Regions from separate parts of the Homo sapiens genome. Here region 2 is linked to region 1. The links are contacts of gene promoters, found by promoter capture Hi-C in blood cells and fetal thymus (Javierre and others, 2016). All regions are on one chromosome and are shown on one strand. The core of a region is centred on a gene start or on the middle of the fragment in contact, and the rest is flanking DNA. Distances in the headings are between cores, read along the strand shown. Region 1 holds the start of CACNA1G (calcium voltage-gated channel subunit alpha1 G). Region 2 overlaps ABCC3 (ATP binding cassette subfamily C member 3).

Region 1 (5,262 bases), core at 1-2,500:
GCCTGGATCCCCACCCCCCCAACCCAGGAAGACTGAGGTGTGTGTACGCAGGTGGGGTAAGCCCGGGTTACCGACGAGACCTGCTCGCGTCTCCGCTCCCACTCTGGTGCCCCCTCCCCTCCCTGGCAGCCCCCCCCCCATCCGCCTACCCTCCGGGCTCACTTCGACTCACCTGGCGGTGGGTCTTCTTCCCCCCCGACCCCCGGCGGTGCGGCCCGTCCCCCTTCTGACCCCGCGCCTGGCCGTCGTGCCCCGAAGGATATGGGTTACAGACCGTGCGGAGACACCAGCTCCGCGGGCGGCTGTCCTGGCTCAAGTAGAAGAAAACCACCGGGGCCAGCGCCGGGTACGGCAGCCCCTCCGCCTCGGAGTCCGCGCTGCCCGGGTCCTTTTCTGCTGACCCCGGCCCCGGCCGGCCCCCGGCCCCCGACAGGTCGTTGAGCCGCATGAAGCTCCGGGGCTGTCCCGACTCCTCGGCGCCCGCTCCATCCTCCTCCTCGTCCATCCTCTGGCCAGCCGGGGCCCCGGGCGATCCGGAGAGGGGCAAGCGGCGCCCCTCAGAGGAGGTGTCCTCACGCAACCCGGGGGCCCCGGCGGGGGCACATCTGGTGGGCTCTAGGGCGCAAGCTGAGCCCCCGGGAGGGCCAGTTCAGCCCAGCTCCCCCTGCCCGCAGGGGCATGCTGCCCGCGGGGCGCCGGGGCGCAGGGAAACCCCGCCCGGCGCGAGTCCCGCTTCCCCTGCGCCCCTGGGGCTTCCCGGGCCAGCCGGCCGGCTCCCCCTCACTTTGTTCCGGCTTCTTCGCTTCGCGCCCAGGCTCCGGTTGCCGGATTCGGCGCTACCTTCGGCGAAGCCGCCCCGAGAGGGCGAACGAAAAGGGGGGCAGCGGCGGAGGGCGGGGGTCCGGGGAGGGGCGCCCCCTCTTCCCGCGGCGCAGCTGGAGCCGGATCTAAGGGGTCAGCATCGTCCCGGCTCCGCGCCAGGCGGCGGGGGAGGGGAGGAGGGATCTCTTTAGGGGTGGGCTTGGAGGGGGTGGGGGCGGCTCCTTCCCCCGCCCCGCCGCGGGCTCACTGTCCGGGAGGGGCGGGGAGACAGTGGGGGGCAGTCCCGGGCGGGAGTGGAGGCGGAGATGCCGCCGCCGCAGCCGCCGCGGTGGCTGCCGCTGCCGTAGCTGTCGCCGGCGCCACAGCCTCCTCCTCCGGCCGAGACGCGGAGCGAGCGAGCGAAAGCGGCGGCGAGGAGCCCCGCGCACACCACAGCTGGATCCCTCACTTCAACTTCAAGCCTCGGCCCCGCCCCCAGACAGCCCCGCAGCCAATCGCCGGACGCCGCCGGCCCCGAGCCGCGCGCCCATTGGCCGTCCGCCGTGGCAGTGCGGGCGGGAGCGCAGGGAGAGAACCACAGCTGGAATCCGATTCCCACCCCAAAACCCAGGACCGCCCCTCTCCCCTCCCCTTGCCCCTGGGTCCGCTCCCGAAGGCTGGAGCCAATCAGACTGCTGCCCAGACCGAACCCACTTTCCTATTGGCCATTGGGGTCTTTGGGACTCCCTTGGAGGGAGCCCGAAGAATCAGAGTATTCGGCGCGGGGTCCTGGCGTAGGGCCGCAGGCCCCAGGCATCCTTTGTCCACGACCCCTGATTTGGGCAGCAGCCGGAGGACGGAGCTCAGCTCTGGGCGGGCCTGGGGAAGAAAGGAGACAGGCGGCACGGGGGTGAGGGTTGTCACCAGGGGGTCCCAGAGCGAAATCCCAGGTCTCCACCTGGTTAATCTCCCACCCTGGAGTTGAGCTTGGCTGCGGGACTGGGGGAGGGAAGGAGCGGAGCTGGATGTCCTGGGGGTGGGGCTTCAGGCTGGAGGGGCCCAGTCTTGGAGAAACGGGCGGAGCTCGAGAAAGGCTAGGGTAGGCATGGTCTGGGCGTGGCCTCCACAAATCTCTTGGGCTTATTGGTCATACTCCCGAGTCAATTCTGAGACTTCGACCCTGACCTCGTAACCCTAACCCGCTGGACCTGACCTCACATTGACGCTCCTGGGCTTCATCCCTTTGCCCCTAGGGACCTTTTGAAGGGCGTGGACTCCACGCAGGGGCTTCGTGCTTGAACACGTGGCCCCAGGCAGGTCGCGCTGGACCGCAGAGCCCGGATCCCCAGGAGGGGCTGCGGAGCAGAGCGAGGACCCCTAAGAAGGAACCTGTGGGGGTCTCGAGTGTGTGGGAGGGGGCGGAAGCACAGAGCTGGGCTTTATCGACTCGACCTTCAAAGTCCCCACCACCGCCACCCCCCAACTTCGTGCCTCAGTTTCTCTTAAGTCCCTATGTGGCTTAGGGAAAGAGTGTCCGCGGAACTGGAACTTCGCGGGTCTGCCGCCTTCACTCACTCACCTTAACCCTACCGGCAGCGGGCCCTCGTGGGTTTGTGCTTTCCACGCGTGCACACGCACGCGCAGACCCCGGCCCTTGCCCCGCCTACCTCCCCGAGTTCTGGGGCTCAGTCGGCTCTAGCTCTCTCCTGCCGCCGGCGCCACTCCAGAAAGCTGTGGGTACCCGGGAGCGGAGCGCCGCGGGTGTGCTGGGCGCCGGTGGAGGGGGGAACAGCGAGGATTAGACGCCGGGAAGCACTTCCCCAACATCTGCGAGAGGTAGACACGGCGGAACCTAGTGGGTCAGTCAGTTCCCTCTCCGGAGATTTTGGGGCGCTTGCGCCACTGCGGAGAGGCGGCGGGATGGGTCGGATGACCTCCATCACCACCCCTCACTTTGCTGAGGCCATCACCCCTGGGCGTTGTTCACTCTCCTAAGGCTGCACCACCCACGCAGCCCCCGCGCACCTCCCGCCACCGCAGAGGGTTGGGGTCGTCTCAGTTCCCGCCCCGGCCGATGGGGGGAGGGGATGGGGGAAGTGGCAGAGTGGCTGCTGCGCCGTCGTCTCCCTGGTTGCCCTTTCGCCGAATCCATGCACAGAGTTGTGTAAATGAGGCCGGGCGGGCTCATTTGCATTTCATGCTAATGAGCAGATCCCCTAAGTGCCTTTTTTTCCTGGCGGGAGTCTCTGCTCTCATTCTGAGTATGCGGCGCCTGAGTCTTGAACCCCGTGCCGTCTTCTGGGAAAGGGGGGCTATTTATGGTTGCTCCGCGCGTCTGACACCTTCTTCCCTCCCGAGAGGCCGCAGTCTGCCGGGTCGGCCTGCCCTTCCCGCCAGGATAGAGGCCCCGGGGCTGGCGCGAGAAGTAGGGACGCCCAACACCCCTTCTTTGCAGAGGGGAAAATGAGGACAGAGAGGCTGGCCCAGCCCAATGATCAGGTCCCCTGGTGGTCAGCAGGCCCCACACCCTCATCCATCATCCCGGCCACCCCTGGGCTCTGGACTGAACTCTGTTCTAGAACATGCCCGAAAGGAGGGCAGGCACAAACGCACCATCTAGATAAATTGAGATCCACATGCACTTCCCTGGGTTCAGGACCTAGGGGAGACCGGCCACGCAAGACAGGATCTGATCCCTGTACTCGGCATGTTGGGGCTGATGGCCAGTCGGAGATGCTTACCCTTAGCCTGAGTGCCAGAGAGGAGGCAGAGGCAGAACCTACAGGGAAGGCAAAGAAGACCTGAAACCATCTTTATTTAACTCCAGCCCTCCAAGCCTCAGCTCTGACATCACCTCCTCAGAGTGGCCTTCTTTCCAGCAAGTATTTCAATGCCACTTAAGTGCCAAGGTGCTTAGGATACAGCACCGAGCCAGACACAAGTCTGGAACTTCACAGCACTTAGCCCAGGCTGGGATTATATGTTTGTGTTTGCAGTAATGAAATGATCATCTCCCTATCTAGGCTCTGTGTTCCCAGAGGGGCTATGTTCATTTTGCTCACTAGGGCCTTGTCTAGTGTCGGGCACAAAGTTGTTAGGTGAATGAATGACCTCAGGCAGGGAAAGGGAAACAAAGGGACAAGAAATTCCTTTCTTTGGGCCTCAGTTTCTCAACAAAGACACTAAGCCTAACTAAGAGTTTTTCTGGGTTTGAGGAAGAACCCCCCCCATATATACCCTGCTCAGCCAGCCCCTCCAGCCCCCTCCAGCCCTGCCTTTACCCCTCCCTCACAGCCCATCTGGCTCCCTGCGGAGCTAAGATAATCTTCCCATCTGTGATACCCTTTGCTCAGGGATGATACAACCATTATCCCATTTAGTCACCTTAACAGCCCTGAGAGCTGGGTGGATGGCCCCCCACCTTTCAGATAAGGAAGGGGGGTGCTCAGAATGATGAAGTTACTTAAGTGACTGCCCAGACGGTATGGCCCTGTCTCCAGTGACCCTGGCCCGCAGGTGTTCCGCTGGTAGAACAGGGTGCACACTCAAGAGGGACCAGCAAAGGGGAAGGGATGCTGCAGGAACTCTTATAATCCTGCTTCTGAGTGAGATTTATGTGGGACCCTGCCCCCTTTAGAAATTCGAGCACTCCTGGGAGAACTAACCCTTTAAGGAGGTAACTCCTTCTTCCCAACCCATTTACAGAATCCCATCATCGCGTGCACATCTCATCCCAGGAGGGAGAGAGGAGCTGCCGAGTAGAAAGCAGACTGGCTGCAGGGACAGAAGACACCAAGGGCACCCTCCCCCACAGCTGCGCCTGGACCTCCTGCGAGAAGAGGAAGCCTTAGGGGTCTTTATTGTACCCTCAAGACCCCAGAGAGAAACAGAAGTGCTGAGGGGTCGCAGGCAGGTCTCTTACCCTCTCTGGGCCTCGAATATTTATCCATAGGAGGCTGAAGGTAACTGCCTTCGCAACTCATTCATGAGGGTCAATGGGACGACAGTGGCAAGAGGGGTTGGCACACTGCCCAGACTGTTCCAAAGCCAGGGCTGGGGCTGCCAAAAAGGCCACCTGTGCTTCACCATGCTCCATCCTCCCTCTCTTCCACCTCCCCAGGCTGGGCTCCACTTGTCCAGCTCTCTGACTTCCTGGCAAGGTTGAGTAGGCTCCAGCTAGGAAGGGGCCAGCTGACCTTGTTGGCCGGAGCACTAATCCCCTCCAGATGGGCTGGTGGCTTGCACTGAGGGCCTGGCTGCCCAGACAGAGCTGACTCTGGTCCCAGTGACCATGTGTGGCTATGTGTGACCGTGTGAAGGGAGCAATTCCATCCAGTCTCCCGGTTCCTTCCTGCTTCACTCCTCCCCACTGCTGACATCCCCCACAAGCAGTGGCCCCATGAAGGCCTTCTTGTCTCTAGTAGCCTCTTTTGGCTCTCTGTGTTGCTTAGCTGGAGGGCT
Region 2 (5,262 bases), core at 1,043-3,542, 83 kb before region 1:
AACACCTATCACCTTTTGACATGATATATAATTTACTGATTTATTATATTTTCTCTCATCTTTTCCTTTACTTGCTGACATGTAAGCTCTTTGAAGGGAAGAACCTTTATTTTATTTATCTATGTATCCTAAGTACTTAGAATGGTGCCTAGCACATAGTAGGTGCTCAGAAAAAAGATTTGCTTAAATAAATCAAATATTTATTGAAGACCAGGGACATTGCCCAGTGCTTTGAGAGGCCAAGGCAGGAGCATCACTTGAGGCCAGGAGTTTGAGACCAGCCTGGGCAACATAGCAAGACGCTGTCTCTACAAAAATGTAAAACATTAGCCTGGTCTGGTGACAGGCACCTGTAGTCCCAGTTACATGGAGGCTAAGGCGGGAGGATCTCTTGAGCCCGGGAGTTTGTTGCTGCAGTGAGCCATGATTATGCCACTCCACTCTAGCCTGAGCAACAGAGCAAGACCTGGACTCTTAAAAAAAAAATACACACACACACATACACGTTTATTGAATAAATGAATGAAAGAATAATAGTATACCATCCCTTTAAACTTTCAGTAGCTCCCTACTGCCTAGAAGGCAAAGTTCAAACATTTTACTATGGCATTCAAAGCCCACAGCTGGCCTTGAACTATCTGGCTATGTGAACTGTTGAATAATCTATATGCTTGAGTTCTGAGTTCTCCCATCTTTTTTTTTTTTTTTTTTTTTTTTTTTTGATGGAATCTTGCTCTGTCGCCCAGGCTGGAGGGCAGTGGCACAATCTTGGCTTACTGCAACCTCTGCCTCCCGTGTTCAAGTGATTCTCGTGCCTCAGCCTTCTGAGTAGCTGGGATTACGGGCGTGCACCACCACGGCTGGTTAATTTCTTTCTTTTTTTTTTTTTTTTAAGGCCAAGTCTCGCTCTGTCACCCAGGCTGGAGTGCAGTGGTGCGACCTTGGCTCACTGCAACCTCTGCCTCCAGGGTTCAAGCGATTCTCCCACCTCAGCCTCCTGGGTAGCTGGAATTACAGGCACATGCCACTACGCCAGGCTAATTTTTGTTTTCTGTTTTTTTGTTTGCTTGTTTTTGAGACGGAGTCTCGCTCTGTCGCCCAGGCTGGAGTGCAGTGGCGTGATCTCGGCTCACTGCAAGCTCCGCCTCCCGGGTTCACGCCATTCTCCTGCCTCAGCCTCCTGATTGGCTGAGACTACAGGCGCCCGCCACCATGCCCGTCTAATTTTTTGTATTTTTAGTAGAGACGGGGTTTTACCGTGTTAGCGAGGATGGTCTCGATCTCCTGACCTTGTGATCTGCCCACCTCGGCCTCCCAAAGTGCTGGGATTACAGGCATGAGCCACTGCACCCGGCCTTGGTTTTTGTTTTGTTTTGGTTTTGAGACGGAGTCTCACTCTGTCACCTCGGCTGGAGTGCAGTGGCACGATCTCAGCTCTCTGCAACCTGTGCCTCCAGGGTTCAAGTGATTCTCCTGTCTCAGCCTCCCAAGTAGCTAGGACCACAGGTGCACACCACCACACCCAGCTAAATTTTGTATTATTAGTAGAGATGGGGTTTCACCATGTTGGCCAGGCTGGTCTGGAACTCCTGACCTCAAGTGATCTGCCAGCCTCAGCCTCCCAAAGTGCTGGGATTACAGGGGTGAGCCACCATGCCTGGCCAAGTTCTAGCATCTTAAGAAAACAACTCATGGAAGGGGAGTGATCTGCACTCCCTGCTTCCTTTCCCCAACCTCCCCAGCCTGCCTTCCCTTCTTCCTTTTTTTTTTTTTTTTTTTTTTGAGACGGAGTCTGGCTCTGTCACCCAGGCTGGAGTGCAGTGGTGTGACCTTGGCTCACTGCAACCTCCACCTCCCGGGTTCAAATGATTCTCCTGCCTCAGCCTCCTGAGTAGCTGGGATTACAGATGCCCGCCACCACGCCCAGCTAATTTTTGTATTTTTAGTAGAGACGGGGTTTCACCGTGTTGGTCAGGCTGGTCTCGAACTCCTGACCTTGTGATCCGCCCGCCTCAGCCTCCCAAAGTGCCAGGATTTCAGGCGTGAGCCACTGTGCCTGGCCTGCCTTCCCTTCTTAATCCCATCTGGGGCAGCCCTCTGCCCTCCAGTGCCCCTGCCCACCTGCGAGATGGCTCTTCCCAAAATACAGCTTTGTGCCTCTTGCCTCATGCCCACAAACCTGCAGTGACTCCTGCTGCTCATGAAGCCACATCCTAGCACCCAACCTGGTCCTCAAGACCCCCCCCATGGCATCTCCTCCCACCTCCTTTCCCATTGCTCCCTTCCCCCACAGCCAACTCACTTCATCCTAAATCTGCTCTGAGATTCTTGCTCCTACCCCCTTGCTCAACCTAGTCCCTCTTTTTACCACTTGTCAAAATCCTAACCTAACCACTCCAGGGAGGGGTGACAGGCCTGGCTGAAAACCCACCTTCTTCATCTTGAGCACCCTTCCTCCTAGAGAGATCCCCTTCCCTGGAGCGTCACTCTTGGCCTTGACAATGTTTGGTGAGGGCCTTGGTGAGTCAGGCAGTGGGCTGGGTTCTGCAGATACAGTGGCACGTTGGGCAGGCCTATCCCTGCTCTGTGAAGCATGCAGTCAGGGACATGCTGCCTGGGGGCATTTCATTGAAGGCCCAGGTGGGCAGAAGTTGTACCATGTACATCTTGTCCTATTCAGTATTCAGTATTCAGTAGTCCTATTCAGTATTCAGTAGTTGCTCAAACAATGTGAGCCAAGGACCCACATACTCTTGCTGAGTCTCTGACATGCTGGCCCAGGCCTGGACACTGGGTCACAGGACACACCTCTAGGCCTGATCAGGTACTCCAGTTAGTTGCCATCCAGATAGCCTGTCCCAAAGCTGCCCTGAACCCAGATCTTCAGGTCTCTGGGCCGGAGTGTACATCCCATTTCTCTGGGCCCAGCCAGAGCCTCATCTACATGGGGCCTCTCTGGGGCACCCCAGCCTCTGACCTTTCCTTGCTTTTCCCTGGCAGCCAGTTAAGTGAGGAAAATAAAGGCCCCTAATGTTTCTCCCGCATTTTATTACTGCACTTACCTAGTTGTTATCTGGATGTTGTCTCAGAACAACTTCCAGGGGTATATAGGAGGGGCACTGTTAGGCCCAGTGTACAAAAGAGAAACTACACCCACTTTGGCAACAGGTTCAAGGACACCCAGCAGTGTGTGGCCGGGACAGGCACCCAGGCTTTGTGATGCCACACGGGGCCATTGACTCACAAGGGAGTGTGCATGTTGAGGACAGGAGCCCAGGCGTGGGGACATGGTGGGAATCGCTGTGTGCACTTGCAGGCCGGTGGCATGGCTCTGTAAGGCGGGTGGGGAGTGGCCACAGGAAGAACCCAACCCCGATGCGGAGAATCCAGGATGGCTTCTGCCACTTTTGAGCCATGCAACTGTTGGTGAGCCCCTTCGTGCCCTTGAACCTCAGTCTCCACCTGTGAGTAATGGGAGTGATGACAGCATCTGGTCACCTCCCCACAGCGGGGAGAAGGTGAGGGAGAATGAACAGCAAAGCACTTCGATGGCAACGGGACAACACTCAGGGAAGCGGGTGATGGAGCCTCCAGCTGTCAGGCCCGTGTTTTGGTTTCGCAGACACCTGCTCTGTGGCAACAACCAGGGGACTTTGGGGCTGTGAGAACTGGGTGGCTGCTTTGACCCTCAAGGGCATTCAGCCTGGGCTCCTTTCCTTGAGATAAGCATGTCCCACCTGGGCAGGGCCCTCCCTAGGAGGCAGGGGGTACCCGCCCACACAGGCCCTCACCCCTAACTCCCTATTTGGTTCACTCCAGACCCTGAGCTAGGACATCAACTATGGGACACGTCATACAAAACACGTCCAGAACTGAGCTCTTGGCCGTCCCTGCCTTTCTAGCCTGCCTGGCCCGGGGATGGCAGTTCCTTCCTCCTGTCTCTCTTCCCAGACCAGAGTCCTTGGAGTTGCCCCTGATTCTTCTCTTTCTCTCACATCCCACATCCGGTCTCTCAGCAAACCCTGTCCATTCTACCTTCAAATTACAGGTTGAACGGCATGACAGTGCCACATTCAACTGTTCTTTTTTTTTTTTTTTCCCCACTGTAATCTTGACCTCTTGGGCTCAAGCGATCCTCCTGCCTCAGCCTCCTGAGTAGCTGGGACTACAGGCATGTGCCACCACGCCCAGCTAATTTTTTAATTTTTTTGTAGAGATGGGGTCCCACTATGTGGCCCAGACTGGTCTCGAACTTCTGGGCTCAAGTGATCCTCCTGCTTCGGCCTCCCAAAGTGCTGGGATTACAGGCATGAGCCACTGCACCTGGCCTTTATGATTCTTGTTTTACTGCCTCTTCCCACTAGAGTATATGCTCCACGAAGACAGATTCTTTAGCTCTGTATTCTGCAGTTGATGGTATTTCCTGTTGCTTAGAGCAGGGCCTGGCACAGAGAAGGTACTCAATAACCATCTATTGAACAAAAGAATGAATAAACAAATGAATAGATAAATGGAGGGTGCCAACTCCAGCCGCAGCCTCTGCAGCTTCATGCCCAGGAACACAGTGTTCTCTCCCTGGTACCAAGGCCACAGTTCTTGGCACCCAGAAGGGTCTCCAACTCAGTTATGTGTAAAATGAAGGTGAGGACAGGGCCAGTGAAGGTTATTCCCTGGACCCTGTAACACTCCCTGAATCCCTGCAGGGCAGGATGACGATCCCTACTCAAGGCTCTCCTCTCATTCCCGCTCTGAAGAGCACTGCTGGGAGGTGAGAGCTGAGCCCACAGCCCCCTCCCCCACCATCACCCACACAGTTTCCACAGCAACAACAGCTTCCTTAATAATGCGATTAAACAGCTGGATGGGGCTGATAAGGGGTAAGGTCCCACATCCAGAATGGACCACGTGGCAGAGGCCCCCTCATGGCAGACTTCATGGTCACTGAAGCTGAAATCACTGCAGACTCATACAGGCGATGGGGGCGGGGGGTGAGGACCCCGGAGCCCTCTGCCCCAGCTTTGCCAGGGACTTCCCAAGCCCTGGGGGCCCCAGGCCTGTTGACAGTCTCTGTCATGAGAAGAGTCATTACTTCCCTATTCCTGTGTGGTACTGGAGAAGGAAGCCACCACTGCAGGGCAGCTCCTGAAGTCCCAGATAGGGAAGGGATGAACAGACAAGACCATTGACTCAGCAGCAATGAAGGCGTGGAGAGAGCAAGGACACGTGCTGATCCCCACTCACCCTCCCTCAGCCTTTGGAAGG

What was found. Contacts are between HindIII fragments. The CHiCAGO score rates a contact against its expected background, and 5 or more counts as called.
Region 2: a fragment that was not itself captured here is called in contact with the fragment with the promoter of CACNA1G in region 1 in 6 of 17 cell types (M1 macrophages, M2 macrophages, M0 macrophages and 3 more); the score reaches 10.3 in M1 macrophages.

Annotation. Positions count from the first base shown.
Region 1 is chr17:50,556,703-50,561,964 of GRCh38, reverse strand. It overlaps CACNA1G (calcium voltage-gated channel subunit alpha1 G), which reads right to left and starts at 1,250. Exons shown (of 38, transcript NM_018896.5): 1 at 264-1,250. The coding sequence starts at 505. CACNA1G-AS1 (CACNA1G antisense RNA 1) reads left to right here. Exons shown (of 2, transcript NR_038439.1): 1 at 1-37; 2 at 4,507-5,262. RefSeq lists enhancers at 1-291, 1,651-1,700 and a silencer at 1,051-1,430. The HindIII fragment of the contact is 9,044 bases long and covers 1-5,262 here.
Region 2 is chr17:50,640,831-50,646,092 of GRCh38, reverse strand. All of the region lies in intron 1 of ABCC3 (ATP binding cassette subfamily C member 3), which reads right to left. Among named protein-coding and RNA genes, the nearest start is that of ABCC3, 8.6 kb to the right of the region's middle. RefSeq lists enhancers at 5,071-5,262, 5,043-5,262. The HindIII fragment of the contact is 9,662 bases long and covers 1-5,262 here.